Linked DNA regions of Homo sapiens: regions 1, 2, 3, 5, 6 and 7 are each linked to region 4. The links are contacts of gene promoters, found by promoter capture Hi-C in blood cells and fetal thymus (Javierre and others, 2016). All regions are on one chromosome and are shown on one strand. Each heading gives the region's core, a stretch centred on a gene start or on the middle of the fragment in contact. The rest is flanking DNA. Distances are from core to core; before and after follow the strand shown. Region 1 overlaps LSM6 (LSM6 homolog, U6 small nuclear RNA and mRNA degradation associated). Region 2 overlaps USP38 (ubiquitin specific peptidase 38). Region 3 overlaps SMARCA5 (SNF2 related chromatin remodeling ATPase 5). Region 4 holds the start of ANAPC10 (anaphase promoting complex subunit 10). Region 5 has its middle 53 kb from the start of SMARCA5-AS1. Region 6 has its middle 6.9 kb from the start of SMARCA5. Region 7 overlaps SMARCA5 (SNF2 related chromatin remodeling ATPase 5).

Region 1 (3,366 bases), core at 609-3,108, 1.1 Mb before region 4:
ACTACATACACCTCTCCAGAATCAGCACTGCCCCTTCCCTCTCTCCTTCTCGATCCTGCCCCCCATCCTTCAACCAAGCAGTTGTTTCGAATCACACCATCGGCTCCTGAAATAGGAATGCTATTTAGATTGGGAAGGGAGGGAAGAGGAAGTCCAATACAACATTCACACAATTGTCTGGTATTCATTCAACCACAGTGCCCAGATATATTTGTTGTTCCTAGAGACAGCGTAAAACTGTTTGGAGAATAAAGCAGGGTTGTGGAAAGCTCATTAATAAATTGTGAAAATCCTCTCAGCAGGAGTCACATAACCAGAGGAGCTGCCTTGTGCCAAGCAACATAAAGCCTGGTGCTCTGCTCCTGGACAATGTCAAAGGCAAATACAGCTGATTTTTGAGAAAGGCCTCCCTACAGCCACTTGCTAGACCAGAGTTAGGAAAAATTCTTTCCCAATCTCAGCTCGGCAATTAGAACCTGAATTATGTTTACAAACTCTAGGCTTTGCTTTAATCTGACTGTGAGAGATGTACAGGAATGGCCCCTCCCCTACTGTGTTCATAAACTGAGAGAATAACGTTGATGCCAATGCTCCTGAAAGGGAGCAGGGAAACCTAAAAAGTCTAATTGCATAAGGAGATGCAGGGGGACCACTGACAGGAGGGCTTTCTCCTCACTGAAATCTTGTTCATCTTTAGGATTTCTCCAGCACCTCAGTTCGAATTCCCACTCCTTATGTGCAAGTGGCACTCTTGGCTTTCCAATTCTGTTTTTTATTTAGGTGACTCAATCAGTGGCTGAACTTCTGATCCTGTGGCCCCTTTTTGTAGCTTCAGACTGAAACTGGATGCCTTTGTAGAACATATTCACGCAAGGATTCTGTATGAACAGAAAAGGATGCAATAAAGGAGGATTCCTCCAAAATGTTTTAATTATATGTCCATACAATATATAAAATATATGCATCATTTTAGCTGGATAAGAAAAGCAAGTCAAATGAAATGACACTTCTCGAAACTTAAGTTAAATAATCTTGTAGGAAGAGGTATATTTTGTCTTTTTTTAATTATTTTAGCATTCTGTACACTGACAACGAGGTAAAAGAAAATGACTGAAACTTACAAGTGAAAGAACATTTCACAATTAAATCCACAATTGTATACATTTATCTTACTCACATGTCAGTGAAAAATCACCAACTATTATAAAAAGAGGACAAATTGTATCACAAAAGAAGCAAAAATTAGAAAAAATTCATAAAAAAATATATCCAACTATGAAAAGCGTTGCTCTCTTGGTGTCTTCACATCCGTCTCTTCTGTGTACTGATGTACAACACTGAAAAGAAAAAAATACATAAATTGAAATTTAAAAAACCCTGCTTGTAAGTATACATAGTAGCAAGTTTAAAAGCCAACAGATTTTGGTCTGATACATCTGACATTTAAAAGGAATTCTCGTATCATTCAATTAACTCTAGAAGTACTGTAAGACTAGTTTTATGAATCTACACCCAGGTTTGATGTCTTACAAAACTGTCCTAATTTCATCCATGTGTCTCACTGACTCTTTAAAGTGTGACCAGGAAGATAAAATAAAATATATGTGAAAGTCCCTGGTATCTAAGAATGCTTTATAGTTAGAAGTATAAGAATTATGCTTTTCAGGGCTGAACACGGTGGCTCACGCCTGCAATCTTAGCACTTTGGGAGGCTGAAGCGGGTGGATCACTTGAGCTCAGAAGTTTGAGACCAGCCTGGGCAACATGGTGAAACCCCGTTTCTACCAAAAATACAAAAAATTAACCAGGCATGGTGGTATATGCACTTGTAGTCCCAGCGACTTAGAACGCTGAGGTGGGAGGACTGCTTGAGCTTGGGAGGCAGAGGCTGCAGTGAGCTGAGATTGCACAACTACACTCCAGCCTGGGCCACAGAGCGAGACTTCATCTCAGGAAAAAAAAAAAAAAAAAAAGATGCTTTTCAGAAAGTAAATCAGTAAATCTAACCAGGCTAGATCTCAAATTAAGAATAAACAACATATTTTCATCTGTCTCCCCAATACAAACTCTAAACTTGCTGTTTACCTTCTTAAATGCAACAGGATAAACAAGAGCTAAGGAGTTTATTTTTTATTTTTATTTTTTAATGATACCAAAGTCCTTATTCTGAGTTCCCGTTAAAAGTCTCATACTTTGGTGTTACCTAATGTTCTGCTTAGTGGTCTTCTCATGACTACCAACATGAACTCGTAGGATGTGTGGTCCGTAGGAATGAAACAAAATGAAATGCTTGGGTCACTTTGGCCAAACTAGAGGTGGTTCTCCCTTCCACCTTCCATGCCTACTCGGCTTCTGAGAGGTCTGCTCAAAGCGAACAGTAAGGTGTCTTCATCAAAGAACATAGCACAGATGAATCAAATAAGTCAAGATCCTCTTTAAGAGCCAATGATGTGAACTTGGGAGTCTAAAGATGAGTGTCACTGATTACATCATGGGAAATGTGACATGAAGGGAAGCATCAGAATGCCAGTACAGCCGCCCCCCAACCCTGCCCCCCAAGTCCTAGGGGTAGTGTGCACGTTAAAGGATCTACCCTATCAACACGCACAGAACCCAACCTGCCAGTGACTGCTGCCATTAGCTGTCTTGAGGTGAGACAAGATCATAACATTTCTTAGGAAAAAGAGGAGGTCAAATAAGGATATGAAAAATAGGATAAATAATTCTATAAATAGAAAGGACTAGAAAGCCAGGAAATAATGTATGTAAAAATATGATATGAAGAAATAAGGTCCTGTAAGCATAGGGGACAGACTCTTATTATAAAAGTCAGGAAGTTTAGTTTATAGCAAAGAGATCCAACTATTTAGGGGGTTGAAGACATCCAGAATTAAAGAAATCAACAAAAAATCTGAACTCAAGAATCCCAGAGTTTCTGGGAGATGGAACCAAAAAGTGGGGTAATTCTCATAATTCTGATATCTTTCCCTCCCCACCAAAAATACAAATATGACTTTATTATAATTTTCATTTTTAAACTAGGTACTTAAAAATAACTATAAAAATCATAGCAATTTATTAGTTGTTAAAAACTGAGTAACTTTTTCTATTTTGCCATTTTTGCCAAACTGAAGGATGCAAATCTGCATAGAAAGCATCTGAATGTTTAATAGAGAAGGGACAAATAGGACGAACTGCCAAATTATGCAAATCAAAGACAGCAGGGAAACGGTGCCCATTCTTACATCTCCAACTTCCAGGCTACAAGAAGCAGGAATATGTGTTGGGGAGATATACTACACTATATTCGAGAAAGCAGGGTTCCAGGTAAGGAGAACAATGTCCCTCAGTTCCTCATCACTAAAG
Region 2 (3,587 bases), core at 821-3,320, 1.9 Mb after region 4:
GGCAGTCATCAAATTAGAGATGTTGTTTAAAGCCATGGAACACCTATGCTGTGAGTATGCACTGAGAAGAAAATGGACCAAAGACTGAACTGTAAGGCATTCTAAAAGTTAGAGTAAGTACAGGAGACTGATAAGCCTGTGAAGGAGGACAAAAATCAGGAGAGTATAATGTCCTGGAAACAAGAGGGAGTGATCGACTGTGCCAAATACTGCTGACAGGTCAAATGAGACGAGGCCTGAGAAATGACTCTTGAGTTTAGCAACACTGGAAACCACTGGTAATTTTGGTAGAGTAATGGTGGTAAAAGCTTGATTAGCTGGACTCAAGAGATAATGGAAAGAATGTTTTCATATTGGATATTTGAAAATGAAAAAATTATTTTAATTACTTATACTTTTTTTTGAGACGCAGTCTTGCTCTGTCATCCAGGCTGGAGTGCAGTGGTGCTATCTTGGCTCACTGCAACCTCTGCCTCTCAGATTCAAGTCATTCTCGTGCCTCAGCCTCCTGAGCAGCTGGGACTACAGGCATGAACCATTATGCCAACCTAATTTTTGTATTTTTAGTAGAGACGGAGTTTTGCCATGTTGGCCAGGCTGGTCTTGAACTCCTGGCCTCAAGTGATCTGCCCGCCTCAGCCTCCCAAAGTGCTGGGATTACAGTTGTGAGCAACCATGCCCAACCTAATTACTTATATTTAAATGACATTTAAAAAAATTTCTAAAGCCTATTCAAACTGTTATTCAAAACAAAACAACAATAACATATTCAAAATTAGATGCTTTCAAGGATACCACCCAAAGAAAAAAATATTGATTTTATGAGTCTATATATTCTAATAGATTTCCATACTCCCACTTACCAGTTCTATTTTCAGCAAAGTAACATCTATCAAAATAGTAAACTTCTGGACAGCTGCCAGTCCTTTCAGGAGTGCAATTACCCATGTATCCACATGCTGAGCCAATGGCCAGGATAGCCAGTCAATCATTCTGAAATTGAAGGAAAATGAAACAATCATTATTGAAAATATTTTCATTTAGTTAGTGATAACAAGAGTTACAGTAGATAATCACTCACTTTGTGAATAAACATTTACTGAATTTGCTGGTGAAAAGCACTGACCAAGATGTAGAAGTGAATGTAACAGGTGCTTGTTCTCATGGAATTTCCAATCTTGTAAACTGACAGTTTCTCATATCCAACATATTTCCATAAAAAGAATTTCTGATAAATTATTTTGCATAAACGCAAAACTTAAAATTTATGCTATATAGTGGCACAGGTTGAGTATTCCTTATTTGAAATGTCTGGAACCAGAAGTGCTTTGGATTTTCAATTATTTGCATTACATATTTACTGGCTGGGCATTTCAAATCCAAAAATTTGAAATCTGAAATGTCCCAATGAGCATTTCCTTTGAGCATCATGTCAGCACTCAAAAAGTACTGGATTTTCAAACATTTCAAATTTGGGATGCTCAACCTGTATCAAGAATTTATTAGGCAAATTTACTCTAAAAAGAGCAGCTGAAATGTAATCTGAACTAAGACATATGAATATGATCCAAGATTCCTCCTTCCTGGTGAGTACAGTCTAATATGAAATGTACTGTTTAAAAAGACTGTATTTTGAACTGTGAAAGAGGTATCTTTTTCAAATCCGACTATACAAAGAGAACAAAAAGAAACTTCAAATATATAAAAAAGCACTAAGTCTGTAAATATTGTAATGGCTTCATTTTGCACTAATGAGTGCTTTTCTTGAAAGAAAACTCATTAAATTACCCAATTTAGTGAAAAAAAAAAAAAAAGTAATATAGGATTGGACAGAGACACTCCCTAAAGTTAGATCTCTACCACAATGAAGATTGATACAACTCTTTCAGAAAGCAGCTGAAAGTCAGATGCAGTGGCTCACGCCTGTAATCTCAGCACTCTGGGAAGCCAAGGCGGCTGGATCACCAGAGGTCAGAAGTTCGAGACCAGCCTGGCCAACAGGGTGAAACCCCATCTCCACTAAAAATACAAAAATTAGCCAGGCATGGCGGCACGTGCCTGTAATCCCAGCTACTCGGGAGGCTGAGGCAGGAGAATGGCTTGAACCTGGGAGGCGGAGGTTGCAGTGAGCCGAGATCACGCCACTGCACTCCAGCCTGGACAACAGAGCGAGACTCCGTCTCCAAAAAAAAAAAGAAAGCAACTGAAGCAAATGTTCATATAATTTGACCTAGTAGTCCTATTTTTGGGATTATATACTAAGAAAATAGAAAGGGGAAAAATGAGTTTTTGAAGCCAGAGTGACTGGTTTAAAAAGCTCAATTCACCATTTATTAGCTAGGGGACCCTAAATACCTACATAGATTATTTAACCTCTCTGTTTCCTCACCTGTAAATTACAGATAAACATGCTTATTTTATAGCACTGTTGTGAAGATTAAATGAATTAATCTATAACACTGGAAACATTGTGAATGCCTCTCTTCCACCAAATGTTAATACATGTGGCAATAAATAAATACCTTGATTATACAAAATGTAAATATAAACACTAAGGACATAAATACATTACTAAAACAACAACTACTATGTTAAAAGGACTGACATCTTTTTTCTTTTTGAGACACAGTCTCGCTCTGTCACCCAGACCGGAGTGCAGCAGCATTACTTCAGGTCACTGCAAAGTTCGCCTCCTAGGCTCAAGCGACCCTCTCTCCTCAGCCATCTGAGTAGCTAGGACTACACAGCTGTGCATCACCACAACTGGCTAATTTCTGTATTTTCTGAGATGGGGTTTCACCAAGGGGGTTGCCTGAGCTGGTCTTGAAATCCTGGCCTCAAGTGATTTGCCCACCTCGGCCTCCTAAAGTGTTAGGATTACAGGTGTGAGGCACTGTGCCTGGCCAAAGGACTGACATCTTCATTTATATGGTTATTTTCACAACAGTTGTGTTATATAACTATCTACATTAACACTGGAATGTTTTTTATTAAGGTTTTTGCTTTTAAAATTAAAATGTCCATTCGGATATTAAGAGTGGTCCCAAAGTCCAAATGCATGTTAACTACAAGTTATGTGTATGTTCCCTCCATTCTCTACACAAACTTTATTTCCATTCTTGTTTTTCTGGCCTTTTCCAACAATGATGGTTACAAGTGATTAACATAGTCCTTGACAGCTATTCCACGTCTTCCAACTATTGTTGGGGTGATTCTCATAAAATTTTGTGGCCATTCTACTTATACAGAGTAGCAAAGCAGAGACACACTTGCATATGTGTACAGAGGGTATTCACTGTAGCACTGTTTATGGTATAGAAGAACTGCAAACAACCTAAATGATTGTCAATAAGGAAATGGCTACTATGGTACTGATACTATGCAACAGTATATAGAGTTTTAAATAATAAGATAGATGTACATGAATCTATCCATGAGGAATCTAAAATGGAAAGAGCTGAGAAATTGTTGAATTAACAAGGAAAAAAAAAACCACTGCAGTTTTTTTAAAAAACAATTTTAGTTTAAAAGAAAATCATGTGAATATATATGTAAATATGGACATAAAAAAGATGTAATCTAAAGGC
Region 3 (3,337 bases), core at 119-2,618, 1.5 Mb after region 4:
TTCAAGTGTTAATGATAAAAAAATTTCAGCACAGCTGTTGCATTTAAAAAAGTGAAACTACATACTATGTTTCTAGCTCAGTAAACAGATGAACCTGATGTCTTTAAATGACATAACAATTGAGCATTGTACAGTACATCTTATGAAGACCCGTAAATTAAAGAACTACTGGTTTAAAGTTAGTGATTATGAAACAAAAACATATTCATAGTTTCAGCTTCTTTTTTCTTCCTCGACCATCAGGTGCGCCATCCATTTTACGTTTCTGTGTCTACAAACAGACAGAAGGATTACTTTTCACAAGACTAATATAAACATGAAATATAGTTGCAGACACATTATAACACTTTAGTAATAACAACTACTACAAAGTAATAGGTATGAGACTTTTCCCCCAGGCTATATAAATCTTTCAAAGCAAACTATAAAGCCTCCAAATAATCTTACCTACTTATTTTACTTACAGAATAAAAAATGTTAATGTTAATAATGACGTTATAAAACTAATGCACAATTAACAGTAGTAGATCAATATCAAATAAATGCAAGCTTCCCAAAATAGTAAGAAACACTTGAGTTTTTAAAAGGCAGTTACATAAGTACCAAATATTATCCAGAGATACTCATTTATTCATGACTTTATAAATTAACCATTTTTTATTAAATTAACTATTATTAAATAACATTTTTTCCCTTTAAGTGTTTGCCTTCACATTGCTAAAACATCACTGAAATAATCAAAGCTTAGAGACTAACAGTAAAAGTCATAATACCACTGCTTTTCCAATGTTTCTTAAATTATTCTAAAATTATAACTTGTATTCTCAATGAGATGTGTACACACTTGACATTTACGAGACATACTTTCCTGATTTTCACGAAGCCCCATATTAAGGACTACCATATCATCAAGAAGTGATTTTTCCCACACAACCCAGTCAAGCTAAATTTGTACTTTTTAAGTATTTCAAGGAAGTCCTAGCTACAGCAATCAGACGAGAGAAAGAAAGAAAGGACATCTAAATCGGAAACAAAGAAGTCAAATTGCCCTATTTGTAAATGACATAATCTTACATTTGGAAAAACCTAAAGACTCCATCAAAAAACTATTAGAACTCATAAACAAATTCAGTGACACTGCAGGATACAAAATCAACATACAACAAACAGTAGCATTTCTATGCCAACAGTGAAGAATGTGAAAAATAAAAAGTAATCCCATTTACAGTAATTACACGTGAAATAAAATACCCAGGAATTAATCAAAGAAGCGAAAGATCTCTAAGATAAACTATAAAACACTGATGTAAGAAACTGAAGACACAAAAAAATAGATATTCCATGTTCATGGATTAGCAAATTCAATATTGTTAAAATGTCCATACTACCCAAAGCAATCCACAGATTCAATGCAATCCTTATCAAAATACCCATGACATTCTTCACTGAAATAGAAAAAAAAATACTAAAATTTATATGGACCCACAGAACACCCAGAAATAGCCAAAGCCACCCTAAGCAAAAAGAATAAAACTGGAAGAATCACATTACCTGACTTAACTTATAGTACCGAGCTATAGTAACCAAAACAGCATGGTGCTGGTATAGAAACAGATACATAGATCAGTGCAACAGTGGAAAAGAACAGAGAACCCAGAGATAAGTCCGTAAAGTCCATACATCTACATGGAACTCATTTTTGACAAAGCTACCAAGAACATACACTGGAGAAAGGACAGTCTCTTCAATAAATGGTAATGGGAAAATTGGATATCCATACACAGAAGAATGAAACTTGACCTGTATCCCTAACTATATAAAAAAATCAAATCAAAATGTATTAAAGACTTTAAGTCCTCAAACTGTGAAACTACAAGAAAACATTGGGAAAACTCTCCAGAACACTGGACTGGGCAAAGATTTCTTGAATAATACCCCACAGGCAACCAAAGCAAAAATGGACAAATGGGATCACATTAAGTTAAAAAGCTTCTGCACAGCAGAGGAAACAGCAAAGTGAAGAGACATCCCACAGAATGGAAGAAAATATTTGCAAACTACCCATTTGTCAAAGGATTAATAAATAACCAGAATATGTAAGAGCTCAAACAACTCTACTGAAAAAAATCCTAACAGTCCGATTTAAAAATAGGCAAAAGATCTGAACAGATGATTCTCAAAGGAAGACATACAAATGGCAAACAAGCATATTAAAAGCTGTTCAGTATCACTGATCATCAGAGAAATGCAATCAAAACTACAATGAGATAACATCTCATCCCAGATAAAATGGCTTTTATCCAAAAGTCAGGCAATAACAAATCCTGACAAGAATGTGGAGAAAAGGAAACCCTCATACACTTTTGGTGGGAACGCAAATTAGTACAATCACTGTGGAAGCAGTTTGAAGGTTCCTCAAAAAACTACAGATAAGAGTTACCCTACTCCTAGGTTTACACCCAAAAGAAAGTCAGTATATCAAAGAGATATGTGCACTCCCATGTTTACTGCAGCACTATTCACAGTAGCCATGATTTGGAAGCAACCTAAGTGTCCATCAACAGATAAATGGATAAAGAAAACATGGTATGTATACACAATAGAATACTATTCAACCATAAGCAATGAGACCCTGTAATTTGCAGCAACATGGATGGAACTGGAGTTTATTAAGTGAAATAAGCCAGACACAGAAAGACAAACTTGGCATGTTCTCACTTATTTGTGGGAGCTAAAAACTACAATTAAACTCATGGAGACAGAGAGAAGGATGGATACCAGAGGCTGAGAAAGGCAGTGGGGGTGGGGGAAAGTGGGGCTGGCTAATGGATACAAATAAATACAAAGAGAGACTAAGACCCAGTATTTGATAGCCCAACACAGTGACTACCGCAATAAATAATTTAATTATACATTTTAAAATAACTAAGAGTTAAACTGTTTGTAACAGGGATAAATGCTGGAGGTGATAAATACCCCATTTACCCTGATGTCCTTATTACTTATTGCATGCCTGTATCAAAGTATCTCATGTAACCTATAAATACATACTTACTCATAACAACTAAAAATTAAAAATTATACCACTACCTAAATTTGAAAGTGGAAGAATCTCAAATTATGAGCTTGGGTTCTCCCTTAAGGAAAAAAAAAAAAAAAAAAAAGTAAAGGCAATGGAGGGGTGCACAACAGGGACTAACACATCAATGACAGCCAAGCAGTGTTAAATACTTAGAAAGGGGAAATTTACATAATCCACATATTTACATATTCATGAATACTTACTGAAGGCTTTGGTCCTCGTTTCTTTTTCTCTGCCTTCTCCTTTTCTTCTAGT
Region 4 (3,199 bases), core at 546-3,045:
CAGTAAAGCTTGGAGAGGAAGATTATAGTTAACAGGCTCCTGCAAACAAAGAAGGATTTGCGGATATTTCAGATTCGAAGACAAAAGTGTTCAAAATTGACACTAGAACAATGACCCTCAGTGTCATTCTTACAGCTGAGAGGAAAAAAGGAAGTGAGGAATACTTAGAAGCATTTACAGTCTAAAGCCAAAATAATTGTAACGCTGTGTAAAAGCATTTCAAAGACTGCTGTTAACTAATGATGTTTAGTATCACATGAAATAGTCTAACCCATGCTTATTGTAGTTTATTAGTCTTACAAAACACGTAGAAGTTAGGAGTGGTACACGGCTCTGATTTCAAAGAGTTTTAAGTTTAAGACATTTAGAAGAACTCTAACTTAATATTGTTTTCTCCCCCTCTCTCCCAATTGTTAGATGCTCTTCCAACAAACAAACAAACAAAAAAACTCCCTTTTTTAAAATAGGGGAGAACTAAGTTCTCAAAAAGCTCACAAACCCCAAACAGCTTTTGGTTCAAATACAGGTTCTGAGCCTTTGGTTACACTAACAAAGTATTAGTGTCAGGTGGCTGGTATACAATGAATATTCTCAGAATATGGGACAAACTACTGCAACATAAATGCCACTATCATAAATGACTAGTTAGCAGTCCTGTTGGGAAAGAGTAAAAAAATAAAACATGTTATTTGGACAGTTCTTCCTCTTATAGATTTTTACCATCAAAAAAGAGAAAATAAGCTTATGTAGTTAATGGGAGGTGGGAATTCGGCTTTGGCTGTCATTCATTCACAATACGTATTAAATGCCTACAATGTACGAAGCCCTGAAGAGATAATAAAGGTATTCTGAGTAAAGACATCAACCTTGATCTCAATGAGTATTAGATACAATAAAAGGAAAAACGGGTAAGGGGAGAAAGTGCCTAGTGCTACAAAAGCGTACCAAAAAAACTATAGGATTTCTACTGGGAAACTACTTGGGACAACCCCAGTCATAGCTGCGTACACGCTGTTCTGAGAAAAGCAGAGTGACATGTGGGCATCATTTCTATAAAGCCTGGGAGTGGACAGCGAGTATTCGACTTCATGGCGGCAAGATGCCATGACTCATTCCACTCAACAAAACGTGGAAGCCACGACTTCCCACAACCAAATATGCACATGTGACAATATATCCATTTTGGGTGCTGGAGGAGTGTGGGGGTACTAGAGAGTGCTGTAAGTTCTAAAGGTGCCTTCCTCTCCAGCAGGTTTAGCTTCAGGGCGGGAGTGGGGTAAAGGGGGAGTGGAGACTACGGCATCTAGGTCCATTCTCGAAGTCCCTCGCGGGTGTGGCAGGCAACAGCGGCGACAGCCGGGTCGGCTGGAGGGGAAGACCGAGGCGCCCCCAAGCTCTCGGCGTCGCCCGCGCTCCATCAGTTCCAGCTGTCCCGCAGGAACCGCTGCCACGCGCTGCTGCTGTCTCCGCCACCTAAGGCCTAACCAAAGGCTCTCGGAGAACGTCCCTACATTCTTTCCAACCTGGCAGATGGCAGCTAACGGCCAAACCTCTCCGGGCTATTCACGTACCTGGAGAAAACGATCCCCTTGCGGAGGGGAGCACAGAGGCCAAATCAGCTCTTGCCTTCACTTTTCAGCCACACAGCGTGTTCTCACGGCCACCGGCCAAAATGGCGGTGCCCAGCCGCCGCACGCGCAAGCCATAGGACGTAGTGCGCGCGCGCGACATAGAGCGTGAGGCGGAACCCTGGAGGTAGGTAGGGAGATATGACGTCATTGAGCTGCGACCCTTGTTCAACGCCGTTGGCGAAGCCAGCTGCTGGAGGTGCCGAGAATCTGAGTTTCGGCAAGCAGCCAGGTCTGGAAACTGTGAGTGTGTGGGCTTTTCTCCGACGTCGAGCGTGGTCCTAGCGTAAACAGATGCATTCGCCTCTCCGGTTTCAATCTTTTTTTACGTTTGCGCTTTCCTCAAGGCCGGTGGGTCAGGAGTGGAGCCTTAGTCATTCTAACGCTGGAGGTGTCAGTAGGACCAACAGAGTCTGGTGCCGACACGGCTTACTGTTGCGCGCTCTTCTAGGCCTCAACTTCCTCTCAACTGTGTGGTCAGTTCAGGGCCGGGAATCCAATCTTTTCCGAGCTCCATATTTTATCCACTTGGTGGCGTCCAGTCCCAAGTCCGGCAGTTGAATTCTGCCCTAAAGATGGGCTTTATTTCTATCTTTTTTTAGGTAACAGGACATTCAGTTAGTAATGATGGTTGCAGGTTGAATAGTCTCGCCCTAGATCTCACCTAACTTGCAGGCAAGTGACAACTAGTTCATAACTGAACCTATTCATCTGTTTATTCATTCAGTAAATTACTTATTGAGCGTTTAAGCCTCAGGCCTTGCCAAAGTTTACAGTCCGTTGTGTCTGCCGTTATTTAGTAAGTATCAAGTGCTTGTGTGCCGATTAAAGAACAACTTCGGATACAATGGGAGGTGTCAAGGAAACGGTATGCAGAACTATTGCACCTATTTTGAATAGCATATATAACAATGTTCAGTAGCAGTAACTGCGCTACCAAAGCAGTTTTACATATTGTTCACGATCCAGTATTGAAGTGTTTTTTCACATATGAATAGACTTAGTAAAATTAACAAAAGATGTGAAAGATGAGGTCAACCTTTTTAGAATGGGCCAGTTATTCACTTCAAAATCTTGAAGCCATTTTCCTGACCTTATCTTCTATGGTAAGAGCATATGTAAGTGAACTTTTAACATTTTTTTCTTATTTTTGTGCTTTTTGGGACAGTGTCTTGCTCTGTTACGCAGGCTGGAGTGCAGTAGCACGATCTCGGCTCACTGCAACCTCCGCCTCCCAGTTCAGGTGATCCTCCTGTCTCAGCCCCCCTGGGACTACAGGTGTGTGCCGCCACACCAGGCTGATTTTTTGGAATTTTTTTAGAGACAGGGTTTCACCATATTCCAGGCTGGTCTCGAACTCCTGGGCTCAAGCAATCCACCTGCCTTGGCCTCCCAAACTGCTGGGATTACAGGTGTGAGCCACCGGGCTGGGTCTTAAATAAAACTTTTGACAGCTAGAGGGCAGGTATGACTGTTCTCTGCATCACTCAATGAATATTTAAAATGAGGATCTTAGTGGGGTGATGGGATCACACCTGTAATCCCAGCTACTTGGGAGGCTGAGGTGGGAG
Region 5 (3,358 bases), core at 496-2,995, 1.5 Mb after region 4:
TATCATATTCACTTTCAACAGTTTCCTTACTTGGAATTTACAAGATGCCTTCATATCCTTTTCCCATTTAATTGTCCTTAGTCCAATGTGAGGTGCTTATTAATATCCCATAATAGAAATAAAAATACTCCTGAGTTGTTCAGGTATCAAGGGGTGGAGCTAAGATTTGAGCCCACATCACCTGACTCCTAATTTTACATTTCTTCCACATCTTGCCATAAAAGCATGAATTGAAGTACCTGTGATTTGTTGATGTGCTTATACTTATAGCTGATAAGTACAGAGTTATACAAAGAATCATGGAACCTGAGGAAACTGAGGCTTGAGTTGATTCAACTGAAATGTACAAGCAAAAGTGCTTTAAAATGATGAGATCCTAGCTGAGTGTTGTGAATCACACTTGTAATCCCAGCACCTTGGGAAGCCAAGGGAGAAGGATAGTTTGAAGCCAGTAGTTCAATAACAGCCAGGGCTATAAAGCAAAACCCTATCTCTACAAAAAAAATTTAAAAATTAGCTGAGTGTGGTGGTGCACACCTGTGGTCCTGGCTACTTGGGAGGCTAAAGCAAGAGTATTTCTTGAGCCTGGGAGTTCAAGACTGCAGTGAGCTATGATTGTGCCATTGTACTCCAGGCAGCCTGGATGAGACCCTGTCTCAAAAAAAAAAAAAAAAAAAGATGAGCTCCTGTTCCATTTCAGCAAATTATTTTTCCCAGCATCACATTGGCTGTGATATGGCTGAGACTATGACTCTATTCTCCTGACTGCTAGCTAGCCCAGTGCTTACTCCACCTAATAATGGAGGGTGATTTGAAAGATTTTTCCTAAAGCCTTTTTAGACTTCTTATCCTCTTCTTTTAAATGTAAAGCAAAGTATCAGATTTCTTGGCACCTTTTTTAAAGTGATTTAATGTTGGTAGTTGATATGGATTGGCTGTGTTCCCACTCAAATCTCACCTTGAATTGTAGTAATCCCCATGTTTCAAGGGCGATTACTTTGGACTGTGGACTTTTGAGTTAATGCTGAAGTCAGTTAAGACTTTGGGGGATTGTTGGTAAGGCATGATTGGTTTTGAAATGTGAGGACATGAGATTTGGGAGGGGCCACGGGTGGAATGATACGGTTTGGCTGTGTCCTTACCAACATCTCACCATGAATTGTAATAATCCTCATGTGTCAAGGATGGGGCCAGGTGGAGATAATTAAATCATGGGGGCAGTTTCCCCCAACTATTCTCATGGTAGTGAATAAGTCTTACAAGATCTGGTGGTTTTATAAACGGGAGTTCCCTTGCACAAATTCTCTTGCCTGTTGCCATGTAAGACATGAATTTGCTCCTCATTAGCCTTCCGCCATGATTGTCAGGCCTTCCCAGACATGTGGAACCGTGAGTCCATTAAACCCCTTCCTTCATAAATTACCCGGTCTCAGGTATGTCTTCATTAGTAGCATGAGAATGGACTAATACAGTAGTAAAGCTGTCTGATGGGCTCAAGTGTAAAAGTCAAATGGATAGCCTCACCTGATCCAGAAGTATCACTGCTGACATCTACCTATGAGCATTAACATGAGCCCAAAGTTTCCCTATATCCTCCTTTGGGGCAAATAAGAAGCAGGTTAGACAGCTGTAGAAGAGAAAAAAGACATACAGCCAAATGTGTAAAGCTTTGAAAACTGCTGTCTTAGTCCATTTGTGTTGCTATAAAGGAACACCTGAGGCTGGGTAATTTATAAAGAAAAGTTTATTTGGCTCACAATTCTGCAGGCTGTACAGGAAGCATGGCACCAGCATCTGTTTCTGGTGAGGCTTCAGGAAGCTTTCAATCATGGCAGAAGGTGAAGGGGAGCTGGTGTGTCACATGGCAAGAAAGGAAAAAGGGGGATGAAGGTGCCACACTCTTTTAAACAACAAGTTCTCCTGTGAACAAACAGAACAAGAACTCATTCATTCTGTAAGAAATGCACCAAGCCATTCTTGAGGTATCCACCTCACAACCCAGACACCTCCAGCCAAGCCCTGCCTTCAGCACTGGGGACCAAATTTAAACATGAGATTTGGAGGGAACAAATACCCAAACTATATCATTCTACCCCTTCCCTCCCAAATCTAATGATCTTCTCACACTGCAAAAAAGAATCATCCCTTCCCAATAGTCCCCCAAAATTTTAACTCATTCCAAGCATCAGCTCAAAAGTCCAATCTGAGACTGAGCATGGTGGCTCACACCTGTAATTCCAGCACTTTGAGAAGCCAAGGTGGGCAGATCACTTGAGGTCAGGAGTTCGAGACCAGCCTGGGCAACATGGTGAAATCTGTCTCTACTAAAAATATAAAAATTAGTGAGGTGTGGTGGCACACACCTGTAATTGCAGCTACTTGAGAGGCTGAGGCAAGAGAATCACTTGAACCTGGGAGGCAGAGGCTTCAATGAGCTGAGATCATGCCACTGCACTCCAGCCTGGGTGACCAAGTGAGACCCTTAACTCAAAAGAAAAAAAAAAAAAAAAAAAAAAAGGTCCAAAAGGTCCAATCTGAGACTCAAGGAAAGTTCCTTCCATCTATAAGCCTGTAAGATCAAAAACAAGTTATGAGAATTAAAAACAAAAATTATGTGATCATCTCAACAGATGCAGAAAAAGCATTTGACAAAACCCAGCATCCCTTTATGATCAAAACCCTCAGCAAAATCGGCATGAAAGGGACATAGCTCAAGGTAATAAAAGCCATCTATTATAAACCCATAGCCAACATTATACTGAAAGGGGAAAAGTTGAAATCATTCCGCCTGAGAACTGGAACAAGACAAAGATGCCTACTTTCACCATTTCTATTCAACATAGTACTGTAAGTCTAGCCAGAGGAATCAGACAAGAGAAATAAATAAAGGGCATCCAAATTGGTAAAGAGGAAGTCAAGCTGTCACTGTTCACCAATGATATGATCATATACTTAAAAAATCCTAAAGACTCATGCAGAAACCTCCTAGATCTGATCAATGAATTCAGTAAAGTTTCAGGATAGAAAATCAATACACACAAATCAGTACCACTGCTATACACCAACAATGACCAAGCTGAGAATCAAATCAAGAACTCAACCCCCTTTACAACAGCCACAAAAAAAATAAAATAAAATACTTAGGAATATACCTACCAAGGAGATGAAAGATCTCTACGAGGAAAAACTACAAAACACTGCTAAAAGAAATTGTGGATGATACAAACAAATGGAAACACATTCCATGCTCATGGATTTGAAGAATCAATATTGTGAAAATAACCATACTGCCGAAAGCAATTTACAAATTCAATGCAATTCCCATAGAAATACCATCATCATTCTTCACAGAACTACA
Region 6 (3,295 bases), core at 785-3,284, 1.6 Mb after region 4:
CTAAAAAAAGCAGAGCAAGGATAAATCCAAAGTAAACAAAAGGAAGGAAATAATAAAGGTAAGAGCAGGAGTCAATAAAATTAAATACGGAAAATAAAAAGCAAAAACTGGTTCTTTGAAAAGATACGTAAAATTGGCAAACCTCTAGGAAGTCTGACAAGAAAGGAAGAAAGGAAAAAAAGAGAGGGTAAGAAGGAAGGAAGAAACAAAGCTCAAATCACTAATATCAGGAATAAAACAGGACCTATCATTGTAGACCTTGAAAACATCAAAAGGGTAGTAAGGAGTACGACACACATAAATTTGACAACTTAAAACCACTTCCTTGAAAAATTCAAGCCACTTAAACAGTATAAAAAGATCATATGAATAGCACTGTAACTATTTAGGAAATTAAATTGATAAATTAAAAACTCCCAAAGAAGAAATCTTCAGGCACAGATGGTTTCAATGAAAAATTCTACCAAATATTTAAAGATGAATTAATACCAATTCCATACTATCTCCTGCAGATAATAGAAGAGGATGATACACTTTGTAATTCATTTTATGAAGGTGCTTTATCTCTAATACCAAATCAGACAGACACTACATAAGAAAGAAAATGACAGACCAGTATCACTGATGAATACAGACAAATCCTTAACAAAATATTATCAGATACAATTAAACAATGTGTAAAAAGAATTATGCACCCTGATCAAATGTGATTTATTCCAGATATTCAACACTGATTCAATATTTGAGTATTAGTCAATGTTGTCTGCCATATCAACAGGCTAGAGAAGAAAACTCACATGATTATATTGACTGATGAGGAAAAAGCATTTGACAAAATTCCAACACCCATTTAGAACAAAACTCTCAGAAAAAAAAAAAAAAAGAGAAAACAAATAGAGTGGAACTTCCTCCTCTTAATACAGAGCATCAGCAAAATACCTACAGCAAACATTATACTTAGTGAGATTGAATCCTCTCCCTCTAAGATCTGAAACAGGGAAGGTTTTCTGCTTATAACATTCATATTCAACACAGTGCTGAAAAGGAAAAATAGAGATCACTGAAATTCTCTTCAAACTGACATAAAACTTTTGTTGAAAATCAGAATAATGAACCAATTTGGCCAAATACAAATTTATATTTTTCATAATCTTTAACCATAAAGTGGAAGTAATGCTAGTTTATTTGATCAATAAATCAGTATAAATTTAGGAAAAACATTCCCAACTAAAATTATTATAGGATTTTATTATACTTAATATTGATAAATTAGATAAGACATAGATGATTTTATTAAAACAAAAATATTAAATTAGTCTTGTTTGCCAAAGATTCACCTACACTTTGTGAACATGGCTTCTCTACTTGTTAGTTTCAGTAAGAATACTTTTCTTTTAGATTTTAGCACGTTTAAATTATTAGAAGTTTATTATTTTCTGGGAATTTTTGGAATACTCAATCCATGTAAGTATCTTTATTAGTCAATCAGAACAGGCCCCTTTAAGAGTTTGTAATTGAACTTATTGATTACATCCTGAGATGGAAAACATTACGCACTCACAAAAGGAAAGTAAAATTTTTTCTGAATTATAGACACGTATATAGACAGAGATAGATAGCACTTAGAGTTTTAATTCTAAAATTTCAGCCATTGGTCAAGAGTAAATACAATATCAAAATAACTTTCCAGTTCAGATACTAAAGAGCTGTTCTTCCTGATAGACAGGAAATTCTTAATTGATTTAAGCCCTAAATAGATAAATTGACAAACCAAAAGACTAACAAATCCAACACTTTGTTGTCTCTCACTCAGCAGAGAATAGATCTTTATTAGCCACAAATTCTTCTACAGAAATCAAATGGTCAGATCATAAAAATCAAATTGCCAGTTATTGCTGCCACTAATGGGAAATAACTTATCAGCTGCAAAAGAACAAAAAAAACCCATAAAATTAGTAGAGAAGAAAACTAAAAATAGAAAAACATCATCAGCAAATTTATATTGCTGCTTTGGATTTACTTCTGGAAGCCAAGACATGCTGGGCTTAAACTACCCATGAGATGCACTTCTCTGGTGACAGTTTACCTGGTGATATGGTTTGGCTGTATCCCCACCCAAATCTGCTCTTGAATTGTAATCCCCATAATCCCTTCATGTCTAGGGAGAGACCTGGTGGGAGGTGACTGGCACATGGGGGCAGTTCCCCCATGCTGTTCTTGTGATAGCAAGTGAGTTCTCACAAGACCTGATGGTTTTTATAAGGGGCTCTTTCCCCTTCGCTCCTCTCTCTCTCACCTGCTGCCATGTAAGATGTGCCTTTTCCTGTTCCACCATGATTGTAAGTTTCATGAGGCCTCTCCAGCCATTCAGAACTGTGAGTCAATTAAACCTTTCCTTTATAAATTACCCAGTCTCCGGTATTTCTTTATAGCAGTGTGAAAACAGACTAATACACCTGGTCTTGTTAAGTGAATCCAGTGGACATGTTTGTGGAAAACTCCCAAAACTGTTAAAAGAAATTTTTTAAAAAAGTAAAAGCATGATTCTCATACATACATAAAAAAGAACACTTGTTAAAGATTTTATTTAACTCACTAATACGGAAGTTAGTGAGGTGTTAACAACAGTTTAAAGATTAAAAATGGAAAAACAAATTTATATTGGGTAAAGAAAAGTTGAAATTAATGTGGAAGTGGAGGTAAAATTATCTTCTTCCACACTAGGGGAAGGAAGTCAGTTTACCTTCTAATGCATAGGACAACACTTGCGTATGTACAGACGAGAATTATTTTGCACTTGTATAAGTTATTTACAATTTACAGAGTTGTAAAATAGCTCACATAGAGTCAGAAAACCCAAAAGTCTGTCTTCTGGAGTCAAGACAGTTCATGATTTTCTATTTAAGCCCATGTTTTCCCCTATGTGCTATTGTTTTAGTTTTATTGTAAATAATTCTCATTTGGACTTGTAAGTAACCTACTAGTTAATTTGTCTTTATTTTACACTAAGTAAAAGAACTGAAATTCAACCCATATGCAAGCTGGTAACCACTGCAGCATATATTTTTGTCATTCTGCATCTCTCCAGAATAGCTTTCTTTGCTTTCTCTTGGTTTCTCTGCTTCTAAGTAAGTGCATTGTGTTTAGTCTGTTCCAACTCCAACTGGCTGTGCATTATAGTACCTCATAGATAACAACCAGTGTTTCAATTACAAATCTCAAGGTCCAGAGACAGATCAGTTCAGTTTAGGTCAGGTGCCAATCCCAGATTCGTTAGGTATGAATAGGGATCAGG
Region 7 (3,234 bases), core at 183-2,682, 1.6 Mb after region 4:
TATGAAAGGCTATAGTGTCTGGCGTTTGCTTCGAATAATCTGGGAGGAGGAAGGGTATAGCAGACTAAAAACGTTTTTATTAGTTAAAATCAGAAGCTGGCTTCTAAGTTCTTTCTGCATTCGTGTAATTTAAATATACCCAAACACACAACACAGACATACCCATTTTCATAAAAAAAGTCAGCATACTACAAATAAAAATGTTTCAGGTCCATGTACATGGTACCTTATTAAATTAAAACTCCACATAAATAATTAAAAAACAATATCATGAACACACCACCACTGTCTAACAATGGATCTGGTAACCATGTGTGGGAGGGAGATGCATTCTTCACATTTTATGACAGAAAGCTATAATTTCTAGGAAAGTATATATAAAGTATGAACTCTTCCCAAAATCAAGGGAGTATGGTTGCTCTAACTATTGCTTACCTTCTAAGAGACTTAAGGCCTAAAATCAGGAGTGGGGGTTAGAGCTCAGATAATGAACAGGTTTTTTTAATGTTCTACACGTCAACCTTGGAAAGCATCAGAGCAGTCATTTCAAAGTACAGTGCTCCTTTGTTTTAACATGAGCATTTTAAAACAGTTTTGATAATTTGATACGGGTAACCGATACCTTGTTCTTTTAACTTAGGGAGCAGCTTGTCTAAAACCACCATTTTGCCACTGTTGGTTACTAGATGCATATCTGTTGTATAAGGTGGACCAGGTTCTGCTCCATCAAAGAGATATGGATGATTACAACATTTTCTCAACTGCATTAGGATGTTCAATAACCTCATTTTGTCCATCTTGCCTGCTGAGTTGAGTATATCTATATCCTTCATTAATATCCGAGTATACCTATTCAAAGAAGAAAAACATTTTTAGAGCTCAAATGTTCCTTGATCAATCCCTGCCACTTTACATACTTAATCCCCTTCCCCACATGAACCCCCAAATATCTGTAAGAAACTACTCATCAACTTCTAGGTATGGTTAGGAATTTAACATCTGTAACCTCTTTTTGCTTCCATTTTTCTTTACTGTCCATAGCATTATAATGTTCATACTTACGCCTTGGGCCTTGAGGATATTATTTTTAAAGTACAAAAACAGTTCCCTTGGGTAGAATTACAGCAGTAAGACATAATATTTTTAAGTAATAAAGCAAAACTTAAAAAATGTAAGTTTTAAACATAATTTTAGTTTGCAGTTTTTTTGCAACAGAAAGTGCCACTATTCGATTACTATATACCCCATAGCTAGTGTAGCATTTAGGTAAGAACCCTAACATCTGAGAAGACAGGAAGAATAATGAAATGGTAAGGCATGATGATGAGAATAATATGAATACAACGTGACTTAAACATACGTATAAATACATGGGGGAGGGAGGTATGTCTGTGAGGCAGGACTGTGAAGCTACAGCCATAAGCTAAGGCCAGATTATAAAAAGCCTTGAACATATACTAAGGATGTAGACATTGTTATGAAAGAATGAGTAATTTGTCTAAGCATCAAAGTTTTAGAGCCTTGGATCCTTTGAACAAAGTAAGTAGCCTAGGCAATCTATGCTTAAACAACAAGGCAGACCTTTCCATCTCAATTCTGATATAAAGTTCACTCAAATGTTTAACTAAAAAAGATTTGTCTTTCCTTAGCATTGACTCATCTTAGTTCTGTTTTAGAGCCATCCAAGGTAAGCCTAATATCTGCTACCCTTTCAGAAGTTTTTGAGGACATTTAGGACCAACCACCTTCTACAGATAACCTCTTACCCAGATAACATGCCCAGTTCTCTATATGATATTAAGTCCTTTAACCAAACAACTCTGGCCTCTTGCAAATACTTATCAAAATTTAAGTATGCAGTTAAATATACATGAAATATGATGAGACCAGTAAAGAAAAGGGTAGCTATATTTATTTCCTCTCCTTTGAACACTACATTTACATTAAGGCCAACAGTATCTTTTTCTGCAGCTACTTTACACTGACCCAGTATTTATGAACTATAAGTGAACCATATATCTCCCACACTGTGCTATCACAGTTTCCTTTTTAAAAATCCCAAGTAGATGGTTTCATATGAACCCCGTTTAATTAAATCCCAATTTTAATTTTGGATTCATAAGCCTTCCATCCTGATTCTGTCATCTAACAGGTTCAAAACTTTCTATAACGAACTTAATGAGCAAGTCCTATACTACGTGACAAGAAAACTCTTTTCAGGTTGAGTTCAATCCAGCAAATTGGAATTCCATGAAGACACAAATTAGGAAAACAAAATACACATGAAATTTAGGGAAGAATCAATAGTGCTATCAAGTACATCTGAGAATACATACCATTCCCTTTGCATTTTGCTGAGGCCCACATAGATTTTTACTTCCTTCTTTGGAGGCAAACTCTTTTCAACATCAGCCTTAATTCGACGAAGGAGGAATGGACGCAAAACCTTAAAAAGGACAAAAATAAACAGGTAATACCAATATTACACATAAGGTCATATTTCAGCATCTTAGAATTGTATATAAAATACATGAAAAAGAAATTTCTCTGCGTGAGTATCAAGTGATTTCTTAGGACTTCTCCCTGCAAATACAGTCATATCTCAGTATCTGTGGGAGACTAGTTCCTGTCCCCTTCCCTTTGAATACCAAAATCCACAAATGCTCGAGTCCATTATAAAAAATGTAGTATTTGCATATAACCTACAAACATCCTCCCATATACTTTAAATCATCTCTAGATTACTTATAATAATAGTTAATGGAATGTAAATGCTATGTTAATAGTTGTTACACTATACCGTTTAGGGAATAATGACAAGGAAAAGGTCGGTATATTTAACACAGATGGAACCATCTATTTTATTTTTATCTTTTTTGGGGACAAATATTTCCAATCCATAGTTGATTGAATCTATGGATGTGGAACCTATGGATATGAAGGGCTAACTGTATATAATTTATTACTACTGGGTTCCTGAAGGGTAGTAATACAAGACCATTACTTATTCAATAAAGGCATACCTCAGAGATATTGTAGGCTCAGTTCCAGACTACCTCAATAAAGCAAGTCACATTTCCCAGTGCATCTAAGAGTTACATTTACACTATTAAGTGTGCAATAGCATTATGTCTAAAAAAAAAACAACGTACACACCTTATTTTAAAAGTACATTATTGCTTTAAAAATGTGATACATTATTTAAAGCAATACATTACTGCTTTAAAAACAGAG

Evidence for each region. Contacts are between HindIII fragments. The CHiCAGO score rates a contact against its expected background, and 5 or more counts as called.
Region 1: a contact is called between a fragment that was not itself captured here and the fragment with the promoter of ANAPC10 in region 4, in 1 of 17 cell types (naive CD8 T cells). The highest score is 5.7, in naive CD8 T cells.
Region 2: a fragment that was not itself captured here is called in contact with the fragment with the promoter of ANAPC10 in region 4 in 2 of 17 cell types (total CD8 T cells and total CD4 T cells); the score reaches 5.7 in total CD8 T cells.
Region 3: a fragment that was not itself captured here is called in contact with the fragment with the promoter of ANAPC10 in region 4 in 7 of 17 cell types (total CD8 T cells, naive CD4 T cells, naive CD8 T cells and 4 more); the score reaches 19.8 in total CD8 T cells.
Region 5: a fragment that was not itself captured here is called in contact with the fragment with the promoter of ANAPC10 in region 4 in 3 of 17 cell types (total CD4 T cells, total CD8 T cells and naive CD8 T cells); the score reaches 12.2 in total CD4 T cells.
Region 6: a fragment that was not itself captured here is called in contact with the fragment with the promoter of ANAPC10 in region 4 in 6 of 17 cell types (total CD4 T cells, non-activated CD4 T cells, naive CD4 T cells and 3 more); the score reaches 13.6 in total CD4 T cells.
Region 7: a fragment that was not itself captured here is called in contact with the fragment with the promoter of ANAPC10 in region 4 in 12 of 17 cell types (total CD4 T cells, naive CD4 T cells, naive CD8 T cells and 9 more); the score reaches 18.5 in total CD4 T cells.

The regions. Positions count from the first base shown.
Region 1 is chr4:146,187,593-146,190,958 of GRCh38, reverse strand. It overlaps LSM6 (LSM6 homolog, U6 small nuclear RNA and mRNA degradation associated), which reads right to left. Exons shown (of 4, transcript NM_007080.3): 4 at 1-1,337. The coding sequence ends at 1,303. Among named protein-coding and RNA genes, the nearest start is that of LSM6, 14 kb to the right of the region's middle. The HindIII fragment of the contact is 5,853 bases long and covers 1-3,366 here.
Region 2 is chr4:143,193,122-143,196,708 of GRCh38, reverse strand. It overlaps USP38 (ubiquitin specific peptidase 38), which reads right to left. Exons shown (of 10, transcript NM_032557.6): 3 at 864-993. Among named protein-coding and RNA genes, the nearest start is that of USP38, 10 kb to the right of the region's middle. The HindIII fragment of the contact is 3,520 bases long and covers 311-3,587 here.
Region 3 is chr4:143,550,053-143,553,389 of GRCh38, reverse strand. It overlaps SMARCA5 (SNF2 related chromatin remodeling ATPase 5), which reads right to left. Exons shown (of 24, transcript NM_003601.4): 23 at 3,286-3,337; 24 at 1-271. The coding sequence ends at 206. Among named protein-coding and RNA genes, the nearest start is that of SMARCA5-AS1, 37 kb to the right of the region's middle. The HindIII fragment of the contact is 1,246 bases long and covers 746-1,991 here.
Region 4 is chr4:145,096,792-145,099,990 of GRCh38, reverse strand. It overlaps ANAPC10 (anaphase promoting complex subunit 10), which reads left to right and starts at 1,795. Exons shown (of 5, transcript NM_001256706.2): 1 at 1,795-1,871. It overlaps ABCE1 (ATP binding cassette subfamily E member 1), which reads right to left and starts at 1,680. Exons shown (of 18, transcript NM_002940.3): 1 at 1,572-1,680. RefSeq lists enhancers at 1,369-1,448, 797-1,668, 1,699-1,958, 2,039-2,088, 1,222-2,421 and 1 more. The HindIII fragment of the contact is 4,584 bases long and covers 744-3,199 here.
Region 5 is chr4:143,566,652-143,570,009 of GRCh38, reverse strand. No RefSeq gene overlaps it. Among named protein-coding and RNA genes, the nearest start is that of SMARCA5-AS1, 53 kb to the right of the region's middle. The HindIII fragment of the contact is 152 bases long and covers 1,670-1,821 here.
Region 6 is chr4:143,505,120-143,508,414 of GRCh38, reverse strand. No RefSeq gene overlaps it. Among named protein-coding and RNA genes, the nearest start is that of SMARCA5, 6.9 kb to the left of the region's middle. The HindIII fragment of the contact is 4,096 bases long and covers 1-3,295 here.
Region 7 is chr4:143,534,067-143,537,300 of GRCh38, reverse strand. SMARCA5 (SNF2 related chromatin remodeling ATPase 5) reads right to left here. Exons shown (of 24, transcript NM_003601.4): 10 at 2,337-2,446; 11 at 623-849. Among named protein-coding and RNA genes, the nearest start is that of SMARCA5-AS1, 21 kb to the right of the region's middle. The HindIII fragment of the contact is 9,461 bases long and covers 1-3,234 here.